2 separate regions of the Homo sapiens genome follow, and region 2 is linked to region 1. Evidence: promoter capture Hi-C in 16 types of primary human blood cells and fetal thymus (Javierre and others, 2016). All regions are on one chromosome and are shown on one strand. Each heading gives the region's core, a stretch centred on a gene start or on the middle of the fragment in contact. The rest is flanking DNA. Distances are from core to core; before and after follow the strand shown.

Region 1 (4,701 bases), core at 1,435-3,934:
CTGATTGACAGTAGTTTAAAAGCTTGAATGTTGATAGTCCCAACTGACATACCACTGTTTCCTAAGCCTATGGAACAGGGAAATGCAAAGTAGGGCTGCCTGCAAAGTGAGATGACTGATGCCCAGGTGGCTCAAGTTGTTGCCAGGGAATGGGCTATTATCTCCAGGTGCCCCAGTAGTTCAGATAATTCCACACAGTCCCAAGTTATAAAATACAGCTGAACACAGAACAAGGAGGTTACTCTGTAAATGGATTGATCTTACATAAATGCTTTAAGACCATCTCTGTCTCAAGAGGTTAGACCAGAAAATGAATGCCCAAATACCAGCAGAGGCAGTACTTGTGTTTGCAAATACATAACAGTTAAGAGCTCAGGCTCCGATGCCAGATAGACATGGGTTAAATCCCAGCTCTTCCAGCAAATAGCTGTGTGGCTATCTCTGTTAAGACATTCTTCCGACTATGTACAGTAGGGCTGATTGCATTCCTTAAGATGAGAATATGTGGTAGCTTCAGATGTTAGTGCTTTCCTTCCTAAAACTATGCCCTAATCCCTTTGGTTGGACCTGTATTTTCCTCAAAAGCCTCACTCACTGATTTTAGGGTAGAGCTTTCTAGCTGGCTCATCTCATTCATTATGCTTTGAATCTCTCAAATTTCCATCTTTGAGAAAAACATATCTTAAAACTCTGGATGGTCGACCGGACTTTATAACTACAGAGAAAATGTAATTTTAACTAGAACATACAAACCACTTAGTTATACAAAACTTAAAATTGGTGCTTTCTTTAAAAATCACAAATGCTATATGCTGGAGACAGTATGGAGACAGCTAAGCCTAGCCTATCAGTAATGAATTTAGAACAAAAGCAGACTGACACAAAAGAGGACAAAAGGAGGCATCCTGCCTGTGCTTACCACCTGATTCTCTAAGTTCAGGGGTCTTTTGCACATTATAGGAGATTTTGTGATGTAGTGGAAAACAGAGGAGAACAAGTTCCATAGAGTCTTCATTTGTATTAGCTTATCTTAGTGCCCCACTGCTACCATCCTAATACAGGCAGTAAAGACTAAGTCCCAACAGGTTTCTCTGCCTTAGGACTCTCTCCACTTCCTGACATCCTGCACACAGCCACCAAACTACTTTCCTAAACCCCCAGTTCCATCAGATAACTTTCCAGCTCAAAAACTTTAATGGCTCCCTACCTACTACGCATTGGGAAAATCCCAACTAAAATTCAAGACCCAGGCCAGCATTACCCTACTGTTATAATACAGGACTTGTGTCCTTCTAATTACCCCAAGGAAATTCTATAAAGCTTCAACCAGACTAATCGGCTCACTGCTCCCCCAACACAAACTGCCCGCATATCTAGGCTGGATTACGCCCACGCCAGCCCTCACTCCAACCTTTCTGCCATTCCTTCCAAAGCCAGCCTACCCCCCCATCTCTGGCCCCACACACTACCCATACTACCCATCTTCTGACCCTCATCAACACACCCTTGTAGCTATCTCAATTCCCGTGGCATCCCAATCCGCTCCAATCAAGTCAAAGTTCCTTGGAAGGCAGACACATACTTTACATAGAGGGTCCAGCACAGTGCCCTGCACTTAGTAGGTGCTGGCTATTACTGATTAAAACCAGCAGGGGTTCAAATAACGTTTCTAGGGAGGGCAAGATAATACTGCCTATCTTCTTCCATTCGTAGTAAAAAGTATTCAGCGTTCACTACAAGCCTGAAAACGCCTAGCGTACGCAGATCAACGGTGCAGTGGAGAGGGCACGCCGCCGGATGGCAAAAAACCTGTGTCCTAATCCTGGTTTTGCCACAATCTCGGCAGTTGCTGGGAAATCAAGCCATCTCTCGGAGCTCCGGTTGTCTCCGACGTAAAACAAGGGAGCTGCTGTAGAGGATCCCGAGGTATCTTTTGGCTCCTAAATGTCCCCCGATAGGAAACCCCACACTCGTCTTCCAAGGCGGGAGGCAGGCAAACTTTTTTCCCAGCGCGGGCATTCCACACGGTCCTGGAAACTCAGTGCCCGGAGAAAAGGGCAGGGCTGAGGGCAAGGTGAGAAGCGGTCCCCCCGAAGTCGCCGGATTCCTTTACCCCACGGCTCGAGTCCGCCTCAGGTTCCCGGCCCCCTCACAGGCGGACTCCGGGAGAGTGACGCGGCGCGGCTCCCAGGTGCAGGCCGGGTGACTCTGTCCGCCCCTGCGCCCCCCGCACTAGTGGCACACGCCCCGTGGCCCCGGGTAGCGGCCCCGGCCCCTCACCAGCCCAAGGGACGTCCCCGACTCTGGACCAGGCCTCTGGCTCCCGCCTGGCGAGCCGCTCTTCCGGGCCCTGGGGCGGCCTCAGCGCGGCAGTACGGGCCCCAGGCCGGCGGGACGGGCGGCGTGAGGGGCAGCGGTGGCGGCTTTAAGTGCTGAATCACCACTTTGCAACCCGAGCGCCAAACCGCTGTGACCCACGGGGCCCGAGGGCCCGGGCGCTCCATTCCGCTTACCCACACAGGCGCTCCGGAGGCGGCAGGCGGGCGCCGAGGACTGAGCGGAAGGTGCTGGGCAGTGCGGGGTGCAGAAGCCACGCTAGCCGGTACCGCATTAGCCAGCGCAGTCGCCGGGATCACCGCAAACGCTTCCTGCTTGCGCTTCGAGCCGGCCCTGCGCACTGCGCATGCTCTAGCCGCGGCGCCGCGCGGTCTCCCGGGAGCTGCGGAGAGGTAGCTGCTCCGGGTTTTGCCTGGAGCCGGATGGGGCCAGGACGCAGGCGAGGACGGTGAAGACCGCGGACAGCCGAGGCCTGAGCAGGCGGACTGGAGGGACAGGGGTTTGGCCGGGGCGCTTTAGGAGCCAGCACCCAGACTTTCCCAGGCGGGGAGGGTCCCAGCTAGATCCCACCGGCCGCACTTGTGAGGGTGGCGACGTGTGTCTGACTGTGAGGGGGCGAGGGGCCGCTCATAAATCCAGTGAGGGCACACGGGGCTATGTTTTCTGAGGCACCCCCACTGACTAGCGTGCCGGACCCTGCAGGTGTTGGAACAAGGTTCGTGGTCGCGGCGGCCTCACGTAAAATGAATCCGCGGCCGGCGCGCGGCCCGCGGGCTCCCTCTAGAGCGCGGTGGGGACGTGGACCGCGAAGGCACAGATGCGCTGGAGACAAGGCTCGAGTGCGGCGTGGGGGAAATTCAGACGCAGGGGTCAGCGATAGAGAGGCCAGGACCCAGGGGGACGTTTCCATCCTTGGGGAAGTTAGCAGCTCTCTTAAGAGGAAGGTGCGGATGGGACGGGCGCCGCAGCAAAACAAGGCTTCAAATCCAGAGTAGAAACTACTACTCTTGTTAGTACTCCGTACTAGGAATACTACTAATGTCAGTCGGCTTCAGTGGTTACTTTTTAAACAAAGAATTTTCTCCCCAGTGGCTTTATGGGGCTTTGCACCCACGAACAACTTAATAGTTGTTATGAATCTAACTTTCCATAATACCTTATGGGAGTCTTTAAGGAAGAATGCTATTAGGGATGGTGACTTGCCAGCTTAAGTACTTTTAGGTTTCTGATTGACAGACGATCAAGACTGCAGCCAAAAACGGTGTCCTTAGTCCAAGTATTGCTTTAAATGGGAATTCAGTAGGAGGGTTCCTTAATCAAGTTGATGCTTTATCGAAGACGTACCCACGATCTTTTTAACAGTGCGGTTTCACCTAAAGGCAAACCTTTGGATGAAAACAGGTAAAAATTATGGCAAGCCTCCTAGTGGTGTTTGCAAGTGCATGGTTTTAAGAACCTTTAAATTACCAGTCCCAATGCAGAGTAGTCAATCACCTTGAAGCAGCTCCTCTGAGAGTGTTAATGCAGCCTTTCTGAATACATTTATGCTCCATTAATGGAATCTATAAATGGGCTGGGGTAGATTCAGACTTGGAGGGCTTGAAACATATACAATTTGGGGGACCTCTTTGAGACATAAAATACAAATTATAAATACAAAATTAGCAATCAGAAGATTACTATAGAGAGAAAATACATCACAACAAATACTCGAGACTTGGAGATTAGTACCCTTTTTTTTCCTGAGATCTCTTTAGGCTACTTATTAGAAATGCTTACATAAAAATGCTTCCAGATGGCCGGGCGTGGTGGCTCATGCCTGTAATCCCAGCACTTTGGGAGGCCAAGCCGGGCGGATAACGAGATCAGGAGTTCGAGACCAGCCTGACCAAAATGGTGAAACCCCGTGTCTACTAAAAATACAAAAATTAGCCAGGCGTGGTGGCATGCGTCTGTAATCCCAGCTACTGAGGAGGCTGAGGCAGGAGAATCACTTGAACCCTGGAGGCGGAGGTTGCAGTGAGCCAAGATCACGCCACTGCACTCCAGCCTGGGCAACAAAATGAGACTCTATGTCTCAAAAAAAAAAAAAATGCTTCCAGACAACAACTGGCTTTCCCTCTACAACTCCCAGTTTGGAGCCTGTGCAAGTGAGCAGCCCTGAAGTTTAAACTTCATTAGCTTCATGATAAATTTCCCTCTGGTTGGAGTAGATGTCCTGGATAAGAAAGATTAATATTAATATAGTCTCATAACTATCATCTCAATAAAGAGGAGGTGGATGGAAAGAAAAGTAACAATTTTGAGAGTCTACTCTGTGTCTGGCATTGTACATGGCTCCTTCATTAGTCATCATGACCACCC
Region 2 (4,701 bases), core at 643-3,142, 69 kb before region 1:
TAAACAGTATAGTGCAAGTCATATATATGCAATTATCGCTAATGAAGCTTTGATAATATGTCTGGAAAAGTTCAAACAATGGTAACTAGGAAAAGATTCTGATAGGATAGTTCTGTCAAAAAGACTTTTTTTTTTTTTTTTGAGACGGAGTTTCACTCTTGTTGCCTAGGCTGGAGTGCAATGCCATGATCTCGGCTCACAGCAACCTCCACCTCCTGGGTTCAAGCGATTCTCCTGTTGCAGCCTCCCGAGTAGCTGGGATTACAGATGCATGCCACCATGCCTGGCTAATTTTGTATTTTTATTAGAGACGGGGTTTCTCCATGTTGGTCAGGCTGGTCTCGAACTCCCGACCTCAGCTGATCCGCCCGCCCTGGCCTCCCAAAGTGCTGGGATTACAGGCAGGAGCCACCGCGCCCAGCCCAAAAAGATTTTTTTTTTTTTACAAAAAGTTCTATCACATTGTTGATCTTATTCATAAAACAACTGTTCCAAAAAACTTACTCAATAACCAAATTGCCAGTAGAATTTCAAAAATACTTCCCTAACAGAGGAGAAAAATTAAAAATGTAAAACATGTCATTCAATTATATTCCCTCTATCATTTGACTTTAGAAAACATAGATGAAATTCAGTTTTATGGGAGGAATATCATGTGGTGGCTCACAAGCACTTTAAGGACTACTTTCCTCTAGCAAGAATACCTCTGCTACTATAAGAGTTTGGACTTTTGATTTCCAGGTTAACCACTGGTCAATCAGGAGGATTCTGAGATTGTAATCTTTACTGTGGCTTAAGAAAAAGAGGGTGCCTTCATTTGCTTATATGAGTCAGATAGGTGGGCTGATACTTTGGGCGTTTGAGTTAGAATAAAGCCAGGTTAAGACAGGTTATTATTCTATTTTATTTATGATAATAAAATTATATTTGTTTTTAAAAATGTCCTCATCTTTTAGAGATATTGCCTCAAAATAATTTAGGGTGGAAGGGGGATGACTGAAGAGGGATGGGTATAGATTAAAAAAGACTGGCCATGTATCAATGGTTGAAGCTTGGTGTTGCTTCATTATACTATTCTCTACTTTTGTAATGCTTGATAAAATGTTTAAAAGCATTTTATTCACAATTTCAAATTTTTTCAGATTCTAATCATTATTGAAAATTTAGTGTATAATAGTAAAATCTGTATGGTGACTCACCGGACATTTTCTGGTCTGAGTTTATCGAGAACCATCTCTATTAAGTCAGGTCTAAATTCTTCCAGTAAATATTCCGCTGTGAGCACCTCTTCTAGGGGATAATACTTTTAAAAAGGAAAATATAAATAAATAAAATATACAAAGCTACTACATAGTTTATTAAAGCAGATCTGTAACACATTAAATTCATTACTGTACACCCTTTCTCTCTTCAGTTAAATTTTACTCCATTGGAAAAATTTTCTGTAGCCCTAAATCGTTGTCTCTTTCCTACCACATTGTTAAGCAGTTTCATATTGTTTGATGATTCTGCCAAATATACTGTTAATCCCCAAACATACTTCCATTGTAGAGAGCAAAATCACATTTCTTTCGGGGAAAACCACGAATGTTTCTGGTTAAAAACTGAGTACTTGTTAATGAAGAAAATTCGATATTAAAATGCTGACACCTACAGGATTTTTAAAATATAAAGTACACACATTTTTATGAACAGAATTTCCTCCTAAATTTCTATGAAACAAATTAGACAAACATTTAGGAAGCGGCTGTGGAAAAAAAAATGGCTTATATTTTTGGCCAGTGTAGAAAAACAATGCAGAAGATGCTTTTTGGTAAGAGCAACTTCCAATATACTGAGACACACTGACTGATTCATTCATCTAATAAATATTTAATGAACATCTACTATGTGCCAGACACTGTTCCACACACTATGGATACAAAAGTAGGTAAGACACATGAAATCCTTTGTCCTCCAAGAAGCACACAGACATTGTAATTGGGAGGGAGGCAGACAACAAACAAATATTGTAATGTTAGTGAGAGATGCTATGAAAACAATAAAAAAAGGGGCAGGGGCATTATTTTAGATTGGGAGGTCAGAGAAGGTCTGAGGAGAAGAACTCTGAGTGGAGACTGAAATGATAAGAACCTAGCCAGGCAAAGATCAGATAGAACAGTGTTTCATGTAGAGAAAATAGCAATGGGGGAGGAATAAACTTAATGCTTGAAAATTAGAGAGCCAGTACAGTTGGAGTGGAATGCAAATGGGAGAGGTGGGCTGGACAGTGGTATAGAAGATGGCCAGATAGGCTGGGGCCACATCACCTTGTAGGCCAAGGAAAATTTTGCATTTTATGCCAACTCTGTTGGGAAACCACTGAAGGAATTTAAACAGAGGAGTGAAACATTCAGATTTTAGTTTTCAAAAGATCACGAGCCTGGAAAAATAAACTACAATGGGGACCAAGAGGAAAATAGGGATCGCAGGTAAAAGACTATCATGGTAGCCCAAGCAAGAAATGATGATAGCTCAGACTAGGATGGTAGCAATGGAAATTTTAAAAAAGTAAATGATCAATAGCTTTCATATAAGTAACACCTGATATGCTGTAGAACTGAAATATATTTAAAGCCAATAAGCAAAATGCATATTTAATAAAAATATTACATAAAATAAATTTCACGATGATGAAAATTAAGATTTTAAACATCTCCTGACATCAACATTTGCCCTGTTGCTACAAAGTTGAAAGCTTTATACCTCAGCTTCAATTGTAATCATTCACTTATTACTGAAAATATATGCAAGATTGCTGAAATACTCCACACAGCAATGTATACAGTAAAATAACAACAAACTTACATGCAATATTCCTGCAATCTTAGATGTATAGCCCCGTGGCCTCTCTTTGTCTTTAAACCTAAAAGCAACAGCATTCAAGTCCTAAAATAGAAAGTTAATCCAATTAGATACGGCCACCCTTATTTAGAAACCTTTTTTTTTTTTTTTAAGTGTTTGGCTTGCACTATAAGCTTTCTACTCCATATTTAACTTTATCACACTTTCTGAAAAAATGGCTATGCTTGATTTAGAAATGTATAGAATATTTTAAAAATTTCTTAATGTGTATAAAATTTAATCCATCAATCTAGGCTTAAAACCAAAAGCAAAATAGGTAAACAACTTTCAATGAAAATAACAAATACAGGATATGGCTCGATAGCCTAAGTTGTTGAAACTAATAGCCAAAGAATTTAGAAAAACTGTGTGAAAGAACCTTGTGAGATCCAACAATTCCACCATAGATGATTTTGGTGACTCATTCAGAGAACAGCACCCAGATTAGGAGTTATTGTCATAATTTTCAGAAGCAGAGATTATACCTTTAAACTTTTATCTAGTTAAAAAGGATGTTTCTCATACTAAAATACATTTGAGAATCTCGATAGGCTTTAAAGCACGTATTTTTAAAAACCCTTTTTTAAAAGGCTTTTAAAAATTTGAAAGACAAACACCATTTGTTTTACGCAAAAAAAAAAGCCAGCCTCTTCCCATACATACAATAATAAAATCACTTTTAATAACACAATCATACATAAAGCAATTCATTACTTCTTTGAGAGTTTGCTACAGATTTAAAGATCTGAAAACGACAGAGCTCATGCAGCTTCAGGCAGGGAGTAACATAATCCCTGACATATTCCAGCTCAAGAAACTGCTGATTTTCTTCTGAGTGATGGAAAAGCATTTGATTTCTTCCCTTTTCCATCCTAAAAAGGGCTACACGATGCCTTTCCCCTTAGTTGTGCCCCAAGTAGCAAATCAGACTAGTACAACTAAGCCTTAACTAATACTATTATACATTGCAAAATTTTAGACTTCAGTTAGGAAAAAAACTTTAAAAGTTTAACTGGGCCTTAAATTTAAATTAATTCACATGTATTTGCTCTTGAAAAACAGATTCCTTAAGAAAAATTTTGGTGAAACAAAAGTACCTTGCACTCTTGGAAAACCCATTCTTGAGGTCCTTCTGCACGTAACTTCTGAATGTATTGAAACATGTGCAAAATTATATCTTCAACATGTACTGGAAAAAAGGGGCACACTTAAAAACCATTCAGTCCTTGAATCCTTCAAAGCAGTGAGCTCACTCCTAAGGTAAAGTCAGATAAGTGGAAGATGGTCCCTCTTAGAAAATGCAGTCCTCACCTCCCTGAGACTGGCTTTACGTGTCCCACATACATGGCCCTCTGGGCTCAGAGATATGTGACAGAAAGGGTGTTGGGGCAGTAAATGAGCAAATAAAAAGCCAAGTCCACATTTAACAAGTGCAACATAATGATCAGTTGTTAAGGGGGGAAGAATCATCCATGAAACAAAGGCCAAGTTACATATGAAAAATACAATGGATAAGTTGTATGAATTAAAGTGTTGTAGCTTTCAACATAAAACAGATCCACAGCATGAAGAAGTTAAAAAACATCATAGAAAGTAAATTTTCATTCAAAAGTAAAAAGGTGAATCAATACTTACATAATCCTTCCTCGGTCAAGTCCACATTAATGATAAAAAACATAAAACCTCGGGCTCCTTCCTTCTGCCCACCAACAAGAGTATTAACCCAGCCTGCAACATTCAAAGGAAATCAATACGATTGATTGCATATGTGGCTTCCTTGAAGATAAGAAAAATTTTAAAAATTCATACTGTATGTTC

What was found. Contacts are between HindIII fragments. The CHiCAGO score rates a contact against its expected background, and 5 or more counts as called.
Region 2: a fragment that was not itself captured here is called in contact with the fragment with the promoter of IDE in region 1 in 1 of 17 cell types (erythroblasts); the score reaches 6.1 in erythroblasts.

Annotation. Positions count from the first base shown.
Region 1 is chr10:92,571,409-92,576,109 of GRCh38, forward strand. It overlaps IDE (insulin degrading enzyme), which reads right to left and starts at 2,685. Exons shown (of 25, transcript NM_004969.4): 1 at 2,514-2,685. The coding sequence starts at 2,611. RefSeq lists a silencer at 2,085-2,534 and enhancers at 3,035-3,094, 3,105-3,344. The HindIII fragment of the contact is 22,211 bases long and covers 1,319-4,701 here.
Region 2 is chr10:92,503,595-92,508,295 of GRCh38, forward strand. IDE (insulin degrading enzyme) reads right to left here. Exons shown (of 25, transcript NM_004969.4): 8 at 4,519-4,611; 9 at 3,981-4,072; 10 at 2,848-2,928; 11 at 1,200-1,303. Among named protein-coding and RNA genes, the nearest start is that of IDE, 68 kb to the right of the region's middle. The HindIII fragment of the contact is 1,686 bases long and covers 1,050-2,735 here.